3 separate regions of the Homo sapiens genome follow, and all the other regions are linked to region 1. Evidence: promoter capture Hi-C in human tissues and cell types (Jung and others, 2019). All regions are on one chromosome and are shown on one strand. Each heading gives the region's core, a stretch centred on a gene start or on the middle of the fragment in contact. The rest is flanking DNA. Distances are from core to core; before and after follow the strand shown. Region 1 holds the start of GAL3ST2 (galactose-3-O-sulfotransferase 2). Region 2 overlaps HDLBP (high density lipoprotein binding protein). Region 3 overlaps FARP2 (FERM, ARH/RhoGEF and pleckstrin domain protein 2).

Region 1 (4,311 bases), core at 1,289-3,788:
GGCCCACTTCAAAGCACAGTGCTGGGGGCTGTGGCCTCGGCCCTCTGTGGACGTGGGCGGATGGGTGGCCCTGGACTGGTGAAGGACTGGCCGGGAGTTCTGTAGGGCCCCCACCTCCTGCCAGCGCCCAGCCCACAGTCGACCACTGCCTGCCCGGGGCAGGAGACTTCCTTCCTGCAGCCCCGGACCCGGGATCTGAGACCTAGAAGCTGACTCCATCCTTTGACTGCTCTGTTCTGAGCTAGGCCACCCCTGCCCCTGCCCCGAGGTGGCCCTGGGCTTGCCCGCCCGCCTGCAGTGTCGGCTGAAGAGGGTAACGTGCGTGCGCCCCGGCTGCTCCCGGCTGCTCCCGGCTGCTCCCCGGCTGCTCCCCGCTGCTCCCGGCTGCTCCCCGGCTGCTCCCCGGCTGCTCCCCGCTGCTCCCGGCTGCTCTCGGCTGCTCCCGGCTGCTCCCCAGCTGCTCCCCACCGGCCTTGGGTCTGGTGGGTGTGGCCCTCCTAGTGGGACCAGGCCACACACTGGAGCACATGGGCACGGCAATGCCAATGCCGATGGAGGCGGGTTCCTGGGCATGTGGACCTGTCCCTTACTCGAAGCAGCTGAGGGGCCTCCAGCCAGCCCCGTCCGCACCCCAGGGGTTAGGGCTCTGCCATGGGGGCGTGGGCATCTGCTCTGACAAACAACGTGTGCATTTGATTGGTGTTCCTGAGTCACCGTGGACCAGGCAGGCTGCCAGAGCGGCTGATTCTTAGCGGGGAGCTGGGGCCGGGCAGACACCCTGACTCCCTGGGGCTCCCAGCAGGGCCCCACTGGCAACAGGCAGCCTCCTCCCTCTGGCCGCCGGGCCTCCGTCCCTTTCCCAGCCTGGGGCTGGGACCACCGCTCCACACCACACTGCACTGCCCTTGTCTGCCCCAGCAGGGGGTGAAGGTGGCTGGTGGCTGAGGACCCCCTGCCCAGGCCCACACTTCTTGCTCAGGCCCCATAAGTCACTTGGGATCTGGAGAGCTGGGGACTTTGACCTGGGAGGGAGGCATCTGGTCGTGACCCTCAGGCGTGTGTAGGGAGGTGCCTGGCCGTGACCCTCAGGCGTGTGTCCCTGGCAGGTTGCTCTCCACCGGCCCCACCGTTTGTAACACATGGCTCGGCCAAGGTGATTCTGGGGTAAGGACCCATGAGGCGCCATCTTCTTTGTTCCTAGGCTGAGCCTGTGGTGCCCTGGGCAGGGTGGGTGGAGGAAGCAGCAGGGAGGCTCCTTAATGGTGGAGTGAACACCCACACGGATGTCTCTGGATAGTGGAATGCGGAGGATGCAGGGCACGCCGGTGGAGAGCTGCCCAGCCGTGCCAGCAAGGCCCCGGCATCCCTCCCACCTGCCGTTAGCACCGGGAGCTGCTCTGCTGGCCCCTCCCACAGACTCGGGCTCTGGAGGTCTACAGAGCAGCTGGGAGGGTGATGCCTAGGCGGGGGCGGAGATGCCAGGCCCCTGGGCTGCAGGTGGAGGTAAATGGGGAAGGGAGGCTGGGGGTCTCTGGGCCTTTCGCCAGCAGCCGCCCAGCCCAGGGTCTCTGATGCCAGGGAGGTCCATGTGTGCTCGGCCCCTCCTCTGAGCCCCTCAGCCCAGCCTTGTTTCTGCCTCCATGGCTATGGGGCCTGCACCCATCCGAGCCAGGCACTGGCTAGGGCAGGGAGGCTGCCTTGGGCTGGGGCCAGTCCCGGAATCCAGGCTCAGCTGGCACCGACAGGGAGGGGTTGTGGGAAGGTGACCAGCCGTGTGGAGAGCTTGGCGTCGGAGGGCATGGTGGGCACCAGCGCTGGTGGGATGTGGCGAGGGTGGTGGTGACTCATGGCGCGTGGCCCGTAGCTCTGAGGAGCATTTGCGTTTTCCTGTGGATTCACTGTAGCGCCTGGTCACAATGTTGCAGCATTTCCCTGGCTGCTTGTCTCGGAATTAATATCTATTTCCTGAAAAGAGAAATGAACTTTCTTGCAGTAAAATCTAAACAAATATTTATATTTATTTTCCACCTCCATGTCCTGTTTCAAACTTATTGTCCAGCCCAAGATTTTAAAAAGTCAGATTTTCTTTTGGTGTGAAGCAGGCTCAGGAGGAGGAGGAGGGGGAGGAAGAAGAGGAGGACGAGGAGGGGGAGGAAGCTGGGAATTGGGCTGAGCTTTCCTCGCTCATCCTTGCAGTGGCCACAGGGCCCTCTGCCCTCTCGTCTGCGTCAGGTCCTGAGTTCTGAGTCCAGAAGCCGTCGCTGTGCTGTTGGAGCCCACCAAGCCCGTCCCTTGTGGGGACAGCTCCCTCCAAGCCCCCCGGGGGGATGGACACTGAGGGTGGGGCAGGGGAGCAGGGGTAGGCCCCAGGCAGGTCCTCCCAGGGCCTGGGGAACACAGGGGCCCATCGAGGGCTCCCCAGACTCCCTCAGCCAGTTCTTCCCGAGAACAGAACAGTTAAAACCAAGCCCTCCGATGGAGGTGCGGGGAGAGGGCGTGGCTCCCGTCCCAGGAGGCAGGTGAGCTTCTGGGGATTCCAGTTCACCTGCCCCACAGCCGCACCCTGCCTGTGCCTGCACCCTGGGGAGCCCAGAGCCGGCAGGGGCCGAGGCGGTGGGACCTCGGGGGAGCTCAAGCCTCGACTGTCCCCTCGCTGGAGGCCAGAGGCCAAGATGATGTCCATGCTGGGCGGCTTGCAGAGGTAAGGGGGGCAGTTGGACCCCCCAGGTGGACAAAGCGCTTCATCTGTGGCTATTCTGAGAGACGGACAGGAGTGGGTTTTGTTTGTCTTTCGAAGGAAGTGACTTGGATTTGGAGGCTGTTCCTACTCAGGCTTCCCTGAATTCACCTGTCTTGGCTTCGTTTCGGAAGTAGGGGGCCCCTCCTGCCCAGGCCTGGTGCTGCTTCTGGGTGTTTGGGGGTTCTGGGATGTGGGGCCCAGTGAGAAAGCTGCCCCCCAACACTGTGGCGTGGAGACGCTCGAGTGTCCGCGTGACGGCTGGGGAGGGTGAGACCTGCTGGGCTTGGGACCTCCCAGCCTCGGTCTGCGGCTCAGGCCCATGGCTGGGCCGTGTTGGTGGGAGTGCCAGGCGCTTGCTGGAGCGTTGGTCATGCGTGCGCTTCAGGATGCTCCCGGGGCTCTGGGTGGTGACGGGGAGGCTGGGCTCTGCTGTGCTGTCTCCCTTCTGTAAACAGAGGGGAGGTGGATTTCTTCCCAGTTAGGTTTGGAGGGGTGGTGGGTGTGGCTAAGGATGCCTTGCGTTTTCCTTCTCCTGCTCGCCATCCTGTTTGGGGTGATTCCAGGGCAGTTTGAAGCCGTCCCTGCGCTGGCAGGTCCCTGCCTCCCCGGGGCGTGTGCCGCCATGAATTCAGTTACCTTCCTTTAAGGGGTGACTTAAGACCAGCTGCCAGGACACTGGCTGAGGACACCCCGTCACAGGGCTGAGAGGTGTGGGGCCGGCTGCCTGGCCTGGACCATCCTAGATGCCCCCTCCTGTGGACATTGTGACCATATTGTGAAGAAGAGGCCCAGGGGCTGGGGAATCAGGCTCACTTGATTAGCTGGTGGCCAAGCTAGGGCCCCCCTGGCTGCCCTGGGGCCCCCCGAGGTCGGCCAGGGCGGGTGTGCCTGACCCCAGCTGAGACTCTGTGGGTGAGACATGGGAGGCATTGCAGCCGAAGGCCCTCGGGGAGCCCAGGGCACAGGCTCCTCAGCTGCTGGTCTCACTGCCTGGCAGGATGGGCTCACTGCAGCAGCCCATGCAGGCTGCACGTCCCACACTAAGGCCAGGGAGCTTTGGCTCCGGGTGTCCCAGGCTTCATTGAGCACGGCCTGCAGGAGGGAAGCCCCGAGTCACTTCCCCACAGCCCTGGACAGCAGCCTTCCTGAGCCTCGCATTTATTTTCCTGGGGTTGGGCAAGTGTGGGAGGCTCACCTCGCTTGTGTCAGCTTGCTTGGCCTGTGGGTGGAACAAATCAACAGCCCTGGGGACAAAGGGGACGGTAGTGTGTGGTGCCACTGGCACCCACCTGGGTGATTCAAGGAGCTGCCCAGAACAGAGGAGAGACTTTGCCTGCGCTAGTGAGGCCTAGTCTTGACCACCGGCCACGGGAAATCCAGGCCGCCGGGCAAAGTGCTCACTTGGATGCTTGCTGATCTTTTGTTTTGCTGGTGATGATTCAGGCACAAAACTCTGAGCTATGGCACTTGGGGGTGTTGCCTCCCTGGGGTGTGGCCAGGTATCTTTGGGGAGGAGGGGACTCATGATCAGAGAAGATGTGGTACAGAGCCCATGGGGGTCACCATGCCGG
Region 2 (4,311 bases), core at 1,081-3,580, 470 kb before region 1:
GGGCTTCTCCATGTTGGTCAGGCCAGTCTCGAACTCCTGACCTCAGGTGATCTGCCCGCCTCAGCCTCCCAAAGTGCTGGGACTACAGGCGTGAGCCACTGCGCCTGGCCTCAGCTTTCTTATTTTTAAAAGAAAGGAGCTGAAATCCTACAGGTCAAAAAGTACCCCAAGTCAGGCTGGGAGCAGTGGCTCATGCCTATTATCACAGCACTTCATTGGGAGGCCGAGGCTGGCAGATCATTTGAGGTCAGGAATTCGAGACCAGCCTGGCCAACACGGCAAAACCCTATCTCTACTATTGTGCATGCCTGTAGTCCCAGCTACTCAGGAGGCTGAGGCAGGAGAATTGCTTGAACCCGGGAGGCGGAAGTTGCAGTGAGCGGAGATCATGCTGTCATACTCCAGCCTGGGTGACAGGGAGAGACTCTGTCTCAATAAATTAAAAAAAAAAAAAAAAGTATCCCAAGTCCCCAAGTCATAAGGCTGATAAGAACAGGTCCAGGGAGTAGCTCTGAACCTATTCAAAAAAAAAAAAAAAACGAGGAAAAGCCCAAAATTGAAGTGAGGTCTCCTGACTCCCAGTACAGTCAAAGACACCATCCTTTCATTTTTGTTTCTTTTTTGGGGGGCGGGGGGGACAGGGGGGCAGTGTCATCCTAACCTGGATAAACATCTCAACTCTTTGTTGAGTCAGGGAGAAATAATCAATATCCTGCCTTCTGTACCTAAGACAGCAAGTACTGCTGCAGGTCTCACAAGGTCTACCTCAAGAACTTCTGAGACTACAACAGAGGGAAAAGGCAAGCCCTAGAGTGGATCTGAAAAACGCTTATTTGAAAGAATTCATCGAGACTGCTCACGCCACTTGCTGACTGTTGACTTTGACATCAGCCACTTCTTACCTCTTCCTGCCCCAGGAGAGACCTGCGGTCATAGCACTGGGGTCTCTGGGATACAGCTAAGCCTCCTGAGAGACTGGAATGGGATGGGTAGGGGCTACACGAATAATGGTTTAATTAACATTGACAGTATTAATAGATTAATACTGCAGTGGGCTTGCTGTAGTGATGGTCTACCAAGGAACTTGATTTTTTAGCTTTAAAAATATTCTAAAAGATAACTCAACAAAACAATGTAAAAACTGGCAACCCCCCCATGAGGCTTTACCAAAAAATATATTCTAAACTGTATCTTCAAAACTGTAATTTTAATTATACTTTAATTATAATTTTAATACATGATTTAAATAAAAATAGGATCTTACATGCATTCTTTCACCATCTGCTACACTTATTTTCATTTGAAAAGACACCATGGCCATCTTTCCGAGTACCAAATACAAATTTACCTCATTTGTTAACAACTACATGTTGAGTGGAGTAAACATACCTTAATAAATCCCCTACTGATAGGACCCTTGAACTAATTTTTTTTTTTTTTTGCGATTATAAACAATGCTGGAAAGAACATCCTCTGCTCACTTGGGCCTCTACCCCCACAGGATAAATTGAATTGGAAATGGAATTATATGATGACAGGCAATGCATTGATAGATATTGCCAAGGTAAAACTGCCCACCTCCCAAAGAGTTTAACTAGTTACACTCACAACACCTGATTACAGAATACCTGTCCTCTTCTCCTTTGAGGACAACTAAAATGATCATGTTTATTCTTTTTTCCAGCCTGATGTGCGGGAAATACGATTTTAATGGCAACTCTGATCATCAGTGAGACAGCAATCTTGTTGAGCTTATTGACCTTTTGAATTTCTGTACTGTGAAGATCAAACTAATCACAACCAATCCGTCGTCCACCTTTCTACCAGTGTTTCAGCAACGCTTGTGAGACAAAGCAAAATCCACATCTGGGCAACAGAGCAGTAGGAATGAACAGAAAGAATTATAAATTTAAGTGAAACTCAAGTTGTATGCCAAAAATAACATTCCTAAAGGGCACCCAGGCAAAAGTGATGAGAAAATACTATTAAAAAGGACATCTTTTGCCTCAATTAGTCACACAGTAGACAACGTAAGCTGATGACCTGAGACACCTCAGCCTGCCAAAGTTCCGTTTCATTCACAAACATTAACCTACTCTGCTTTAAGAGAAGGGCTCCCCCAAAAGGTAATTGTGCTTGCAGAAAAGCGTCAAAGTGTATACTGTTTTGCGGGGTATGCAGACCTGGGTAGATGGTAGACTGAGGCTGACTGACAAGGCCAGGTTAGGGAAGCAGTGAAGTAGCTGAAGGCACAAACTGGAGCCAAACCACTAACTCTAGCCTTTGCCTCAGGGTCTACCTCGACCTGTGATAACAACAATACTTGCCTCCTACAGGTGACAGGAAAAGTAAGAAATGTCGTGAATGGTGTGGCCCATGGTCACTTCACCACGATCCACCACCAGTACTGGGTCACTCTGCTCCAGCTCTCCAAAGGCATCAAGATCCGACTGCTAGGAGCCCCGGCTTCTTCCCTGACCTGCCCGTCTCCTACACCCTCTGGTCCTGCTCCACACTGGTCTAATAACTGGTGTTCCACATTCCTCTAACGTGCACAACACAGTCCTGCCCCCGTGCTTTTCACCTCCTGTCCATTCCTCTTATAACGCTCTTCCCCAGATCGCTGCCCATGGCTTGTTTGCTCATCTCAAGTTTGAATCAACTGTCGCTCAATCAGCAAGGCCTCCCCACTATGCCAAACTGCCACTGTGTCCCCCACTCCACTCCCCTCGATACTTTATTTTCCTCCTTTCTTCTTGTCCACATTGGACATACTGCATATCTGCTGGTCTGCTGACTGCCTGACACCGCTTACCAAAACGTGACCTCCGTGAAAGTGCAGGAGAACACACTTGCATTTTCCTTACTGTGTCCCACTTCCTGGAACAGTGTCTCCAGCACGAGCCGTTGTCAGATCAATACATTTACACTACTTCGTGAAGCACCACTAAAATGATAGTAAACGATTTTTTCTTTTTTTAAGATACAAATCACGAAAGCAAAGAATAAGAATAGAGATAAGAACATTAAAATACTGGAGGCTAGAAACTGGAAACAGACCTAAAAGGGCTGAATCCTGTATCGGCAATGGGGAAGGCCAACTGGCAATATGACTGGAAGCCAGGAGACCTGAATTAAAAACAGAGTTGGCTGATAGGTTTAAAAGGCACGAAGATCCCTAAGATGCACCCCACAACTCTGCACAGCCACACAGAGCCAACCTGCACAGTCCCTCTCCTATCCTGGCAAAAAGGTATCGCTTTTCTGTCTGCAAAGGGAAGTAGAATCTTTGGACTGGGGACACCAGTTACAGAGGAGGGAAACAATTCTGAAAAGAGGGAAGTAAGCTCTTTTATGGTTACTGCTGTGCTCCCAGGCCTCTCTCCTCACTTGGCCACTCAGCCAGGCAAAGGGCTACAAGATATTTCTCTGGGGAATCTGAAGAAACCCAAAGAAGCTGACAAGGGTGCTGTAAGGAAATGGCCCAGCCAGGTGCCTCTGCAGTGAAAGCCACAGTCAGCCACAGACACAGGCTCAGAGGCCCTCTGACTCACGAGCAGGCACAAGAACATCACTGCATAGCCCAGAAAAGGCTGACAAAAGCCAAAAACCCACAACAAACCAGAGCAGCCTCAATAGTGACTTAAGGAAAAAGAAAACAGGGAAAAATAAAACCTCATCAATATCTTCCAACAGTTAACAGGAGATACCACATTCATGAAACAAAAAATAGGTTATAAAATAGGAATAGAGGGAACAAGAAAAAGCTCTTAGAAATGAGAAAAACCTTGGTAGAAGGGCTGGAAGACAAACTTGAGAATAACTTCCAGAAAGAAAATGAAAAACCAAAGGGTACAAAACATCAATTAGACAGGAGGAATGTGGTTTTCTTTTATGAGATATATTGTACAGCACGGTGAATATAGTAAATAATAATGTCGATTTCAAAAGTGCTGACAGTAATCTCATATGCTTTCACCACAAAAAACTTAAAGTATTTGAAGTGATGAATTATGTTAACTTGATTTTATTATTTATTGTATCCATAAATCGTAACATCACTTTGTACCCCCTAAATATGTACAAGTATAATTTGTCAATTTACAATTTAAAAGATAAAAACAAAAACAAAAATTTTAGAGGGGGGAAAAAGAAACCTTAAGAAAATTATGAGTGCCAATCCAGAAAGTCCAAGAGTAGAATTCTAGAGAGAGAGAGAGAAAGCAAATAGGAAGAAATCAAAGCAATAAATCAAAAAAATGCCCAGCGTTGAAGAACATGAGTTGCAAATAAACAGGACCAAAGAGTAGG
Region 3 (4,311 bases), core at 924-3,423, 290 kb before region 1:
TTCCCTTCTAGGGAAACCTGGACTCAGCCTGTGGTCTCTGTCAGCACCTGGCAGGACAAGGCCTGCTCCCCGCAAGCTTAGAGTCAGCCTCTGCAGCAGCATCTTCCTCAGGCTGTGCCACCTGTGTGACATCCATGCCAGCCCTCTGTCCCATGTAGGCACATGCCTGGGATGGGAAGAGAAATTCCTCATTTTAGCATGATCCAGTTCATCAACTTTGTCCTTTGTGGTTAGTGCTTTTTGTGTTCAATAGAAATACTGTTCTCAGGTCATGGGGAGACTTTCATGCAGCTCTAGAGGCTATGTCCACTTGCCCTGAGCGTGTCCCTGCACTAGGCCTAGAACGGTACAGACAGGTAGCCAAGTCCAGGACTTGCCATAAGGATGTGCCATTCGTCCAGGACACCACGTCACAGTGACTGTCTCTCCCCATGGGCCTGCCAGGGCGCCAAGGACAGGGGCTCTAATCCCCAGCTCTGCCCTATCCCTCTTGGCTTATTTGCCTTGACTACAGTGCTACAGTGGTCCTCACTCCCTCCTTGTGGTCCTCCCTGTCAGTGATCTTCTCTCCTTGAGATCCTCCCTTCTTGTAATCTTCCCTCCCTGGGGTCCTCCCTCCCTCCCCAAGGTCCTTCCTCACTCCCTGTGGTCTTCCCTCTCTGGTGTCTTTCCTCCCTGTAGTCCTCCCTCCCTGGGATCCTCCTTTCCTAGGATCTTCCCTCCCTAGAGTCCTCCCTCCCTCCCTGGGATCTTCCCTTCCTGGGATCTTCCCTCATTCCCTGGGATCTTCCCTTCCTAGGATCTTCCCTCCCTCTCTGGCATCTTCCCTCCCTGTGGTCCTCCCTCCCTGGGATCCTCCTTTCCTAGGATCTTCCCTTCCTAGAGTCCTCCCTCCCTCCCTGGGATCTTCCCTCCATCGGCTTCTCCCTCCCTCCCTGAGGTCCTCCCTCACTCCCTGTGATCTCCCCTTCCTGGGATCTTCCCTCCCTGGGGTCCTCCTTCCCTAGGATCTTCCCTTCCTGGAGTCCTCCCTTGCTCCCTGTAGTCCTCTCTCCCTGGGATATTCCCTCCCTGGAGTCCTCCCTCCCTGAGGTCCTCCCTCACTCCCTGTGATCTTCCCTTCCTGGGATCTCCCTCCCTGGGGTCCTCCTTCCCTAGGATCTTCCCTTCCTGGGGTCCTCCTTTGCTCCCTGTGGTCCTCCCTCCCTGGGATTTTCCCTCCCCATGGTCTTCCTCCCCCAGGGCCCTCCCCCAGTAGGGTCCTCCTTCCCTGAGATCCTCTCTCCCTGGGGTCCTCCCTCCCTGGAGTCCTTCCTCCCCCAGTGGGGTCCTCCCTCCCTGGGGTCCTCTTTCCCTGTTCTTTCTTCAAGGGTCTTATCCCTCTGCACTGCCTCCTCCTGACAATGAGCGCCAAAACCCTCAGGCAGGTGTTTGTAAAATTTAATTCCACTTCTCAGGCCCTCAGCAAGAAGAGGTCAGTTTGAATTAGCTCATCTGCCACCACCGGAAGCAGACCCCATTTGTTTTAAAGTATACTTTTAAAAATTACACCTTTATTATAGAAAAAAATAATTGAAAGTATAAGACAGAAATCACTCATCACTGGCCAGTTGCTGTGGCTCACGCCTGTAATGCCAGCACTTTAGGAGGTCAAGATGGTAGGATCGCTTGAAGCTGAGAGTTTGAGACCTGCCTGGGGAACATGGCGAAGCCAAATCTCCAAAAATCTTTTTTTTTTTTTTTTTTTTTTAATTAGCTGAGCAAAAGTGGTGTGTGCCTGTAGTCCCAGCTACTTGGGAGGCTGAGATGGGAGAATCACTTAAGCCCAGGAGGTCAAGGCTGTAGTGAGCCGTGATCGTACCACTGCACTCCAGCCCCAGTGACAGAGTGAGACCTCGTCTCAAAAAAAAAAAAAAAAAAAAAAAAAACACAGAGAAAAGAAACAAGAAAAAGAACTCTATCATCGTACCCACTCAGCAGTGATGGCTGCAGGCATCTGCTGCATGGTTGCCATCACCCACGGGCTGTTTTGTCAGGACACTGGTTTTCCTTTCCTTTCATGGCAGCCCCAGTTCACTTAACTAGTCACCTGTCACTGGACGCTTGGCTGTGGCTGGTTGTTGAGGACTGTAACATTGTTGGATCTCTGTCTTTCTGCACATCCTTAATTATGTCCTTCAGATCAATTCCAAAATGTAGATTTGTCTGAGCAAAGGTGTTTACGGCCTTGGGCACTCCTGCTAAATTGCTGTTGGAGCACCTGCGCCAGCTGACCTTCCCACCTGCAGGAGCTAGGTCTAAACATGCATCTTTCCCTCCACCATGGAAAGTGCTAGGCACCTGTCTCTCTTACTCTTCCCAAGTGGGTAAGGTAAGCAGCCCCATCGAGCAGCCCCATCATTTCACTTTGCATCCCTGCGGACTGTCGGTGAGGCCAGCCTGGCCCCTGTGTCCTGGCATTCCATGCTTTTCCTCTCAGGAATCACTCAGCGTGCTGGTCACTCTGGTCTCCATTGGTCTGTGAGTTTTTTGTACACATTAGTGAAATGTTTATATGATAATGCTCACCAACACTATTAAGTCACAAATTATTTTCTCAGTAACTGCTTTTTACTTTGCCTACAATTTAGTTTTACCTTGTAGAATTTAAACTCCATCTTGATGGGTTCTGTTTCTCTTACTCTAGAATGGCATCTGGCACATATAGGGAACCCAGCAAATGCTTGTTGAAGGTGTGAATTGAAACAGACACTCCTCAACTTATGATGGGGCTATGCCCTGATAAACCCATTGTAAGAGGAAAATAGTATAGTCAAAAATGCATTTAACAGGGCACGGTGGCTCACGTCTGTAATCCCAGCACTTTGGGAGGCTGAGGTGGGTGAATCACCTAAGGTCAGGAGTTTAAGACCAGCCTGGCCAACAGGGCGAAACCCTGTCTCTACTAAAAATACAAAAATTAGCCAGGCGTGGTGGTGGGCACCTGTAGTCCCAACTACTCGGGAGGCTAAGCACAAGAATCACTTGAACCTGGGAGGCGGAGGTTGCACTGAGCCGAGATCACACCACTGCACTCCAGCCTGGGTGACAGAACAAGACTCCCTCTCAAAAAAAAAAAAAAGAAAGAAAAGAAAATGCATTTAATACACTTAACCTCTCTGATGTCATAGCTTAGCCTAGCCTACTCTTTTTTTTTTTTTTTTTTTTTGAGATGGAATCGCTCTGTCGCCCAGGCTGGAGTGCAGTGGTGCCATCTTGGCTCTCTGCAAGCTCCACCTCCCGGGTTCACGCCATTCTCCTACCTCAGCTTCCTGAGTAGCTGGGACTACAGGCGCCCGCCACCACGCCTGGCTAATTTTTTGTATTTTTTAGTAGAGACGGGGTTTCACCGTGTTAGGCAGGATGGTCTCGATCTCCTGACCTCGTGATCCACCCGCCTCGGCCTCCCAAAGTGCTGGGATTACAGGCGTGAGCCAGCCTAGCCTACTCTAAATGTGCTCAGAACATACATTAGCTTACAGTTGGGCAAAATCATCTAATATGAAGCCTATTTTATAACAAAGTGTTGAATATCTCACATAATTTGTTGAATACCAAACTGGAAGTGAAAAACAGAATGGTCGTATGGGCACTTGAAGTTCCGTTTCTACTGAATGCTTATCACTTTCACACCATCATAAAGTTGAAAAATCAGGGCCTATCAGGGTCAGCTCTGGCTGTCTTTTCCTTGAGGGTTTCTATCCTTAGTATGGGCTCAGGAAGTTCTTCCCCATGCCAATATTATATTGGCACCTTTTAATGGTTTCAGTTTTCTCATTTAATTAATCTCCCTAGAATTTGTTTTTTTACTTTTTTGGTTTTTTTTTTTTTTTTTTTAGATGGAGTCTTGCTCTGTGTCCCAGGCTGGAGTGCCCAGGCACGATCTCGGCTCACTGCAAACTCCGCCTCCTGGGTTCACACCATTCTCCTGCCTCAGCCTCCCAAGTAGCTGGGACTACAGGTGGCTAATTTTTTGTATTTTTAGTAGAGACGGGGTTTCACCGTGTTAGCCAGGATGGTCTCGATCTCCTGACCTTGTGATCCGCCCGCCTCGGCCTCCCAAAGTGCTGGGATTACAGGTGTGAGCCACCGTGCCTGGCCTAGAATTTGTTTTGATAGATATTAGATTGAGATGTAACATTTCTCCCCATTATTTGTTGAATCCTTCATTTTCTCACTGATCTCAGACTTTATCAAATGGAAGCCTGTGTCTTTGCACTCGAGTTCTTTCTGGGCATTCTGCTCCATTCCTGTCTGTCCAGCATCAGTCCA

What was found. The method cuts DNA at HindIII sites, captures the fragments that hold promoters and counts their contacts. A contact is called where the count stands out against the background at its distance.
Region 2: a contact is called between a fragment that was not itself captured here and the fragment with the promoter of GAL3ST2 in region 1, in 1 of the 25 tissues and cell types used here (lymphoblastoid cells).
Region 3: a contact is called between a fragment that was not itself captured here and the fragment with the promoter of GAL3ST2 in region 1, in 2 of the 25 tissues and cell types used here (dorsolateral prefrontal cortex and spleen).

The regions. Positions count from the first base shown.
Region 1 is chr2:241,774,284-241,778,594 of GRCh38, forward strand. It overlaps GAL3ST2 (galactose-3-O-sulfotransferase 2), which reads left to right and starts at 2,539. Exons shown (of 4, transcript NM_022134.3): 1 at 2,539-2,701. The coding sequence starts at 2,673. RefSeq lists enhancers at 731-1,351, 2,593-3,213, 3,214-3,834, 3,835-4,311. The HindIII fragment of the contact is 16,655 bases long and covers 1-4,311 here.
Region 2 is chr2:241,306,449-241,310,759 of GRCh38, forward strand. All of the region lies in intron 1 of HDLBP (high density lipoprotein binding protein), which reads right to left. Among named protein-coding and RNA genes, the nearest start is that of HDLBP, 7.1 kb to the right of the region's middle. RefSeq lists an enhancer at 2,956-3,457. The HindIII fragment of the contact is 9,441 bases long and covers 1-4,311 here.
Region 3 is chr2:241,484,560-241,488,870 of GRCh38, forward strand. The region is part of intron 21 of FARP2 (FERM, ARH/RhoGEF and pleckstrin domain protein 2); the gene reads left to right. Among named protein-coding and RNA genes, the nearest start is that of MIR3133, 8.8 kb to the left of the region's middle. The HindIII fragment of the contact is 9,439 bases long and covers 1-4,311 here.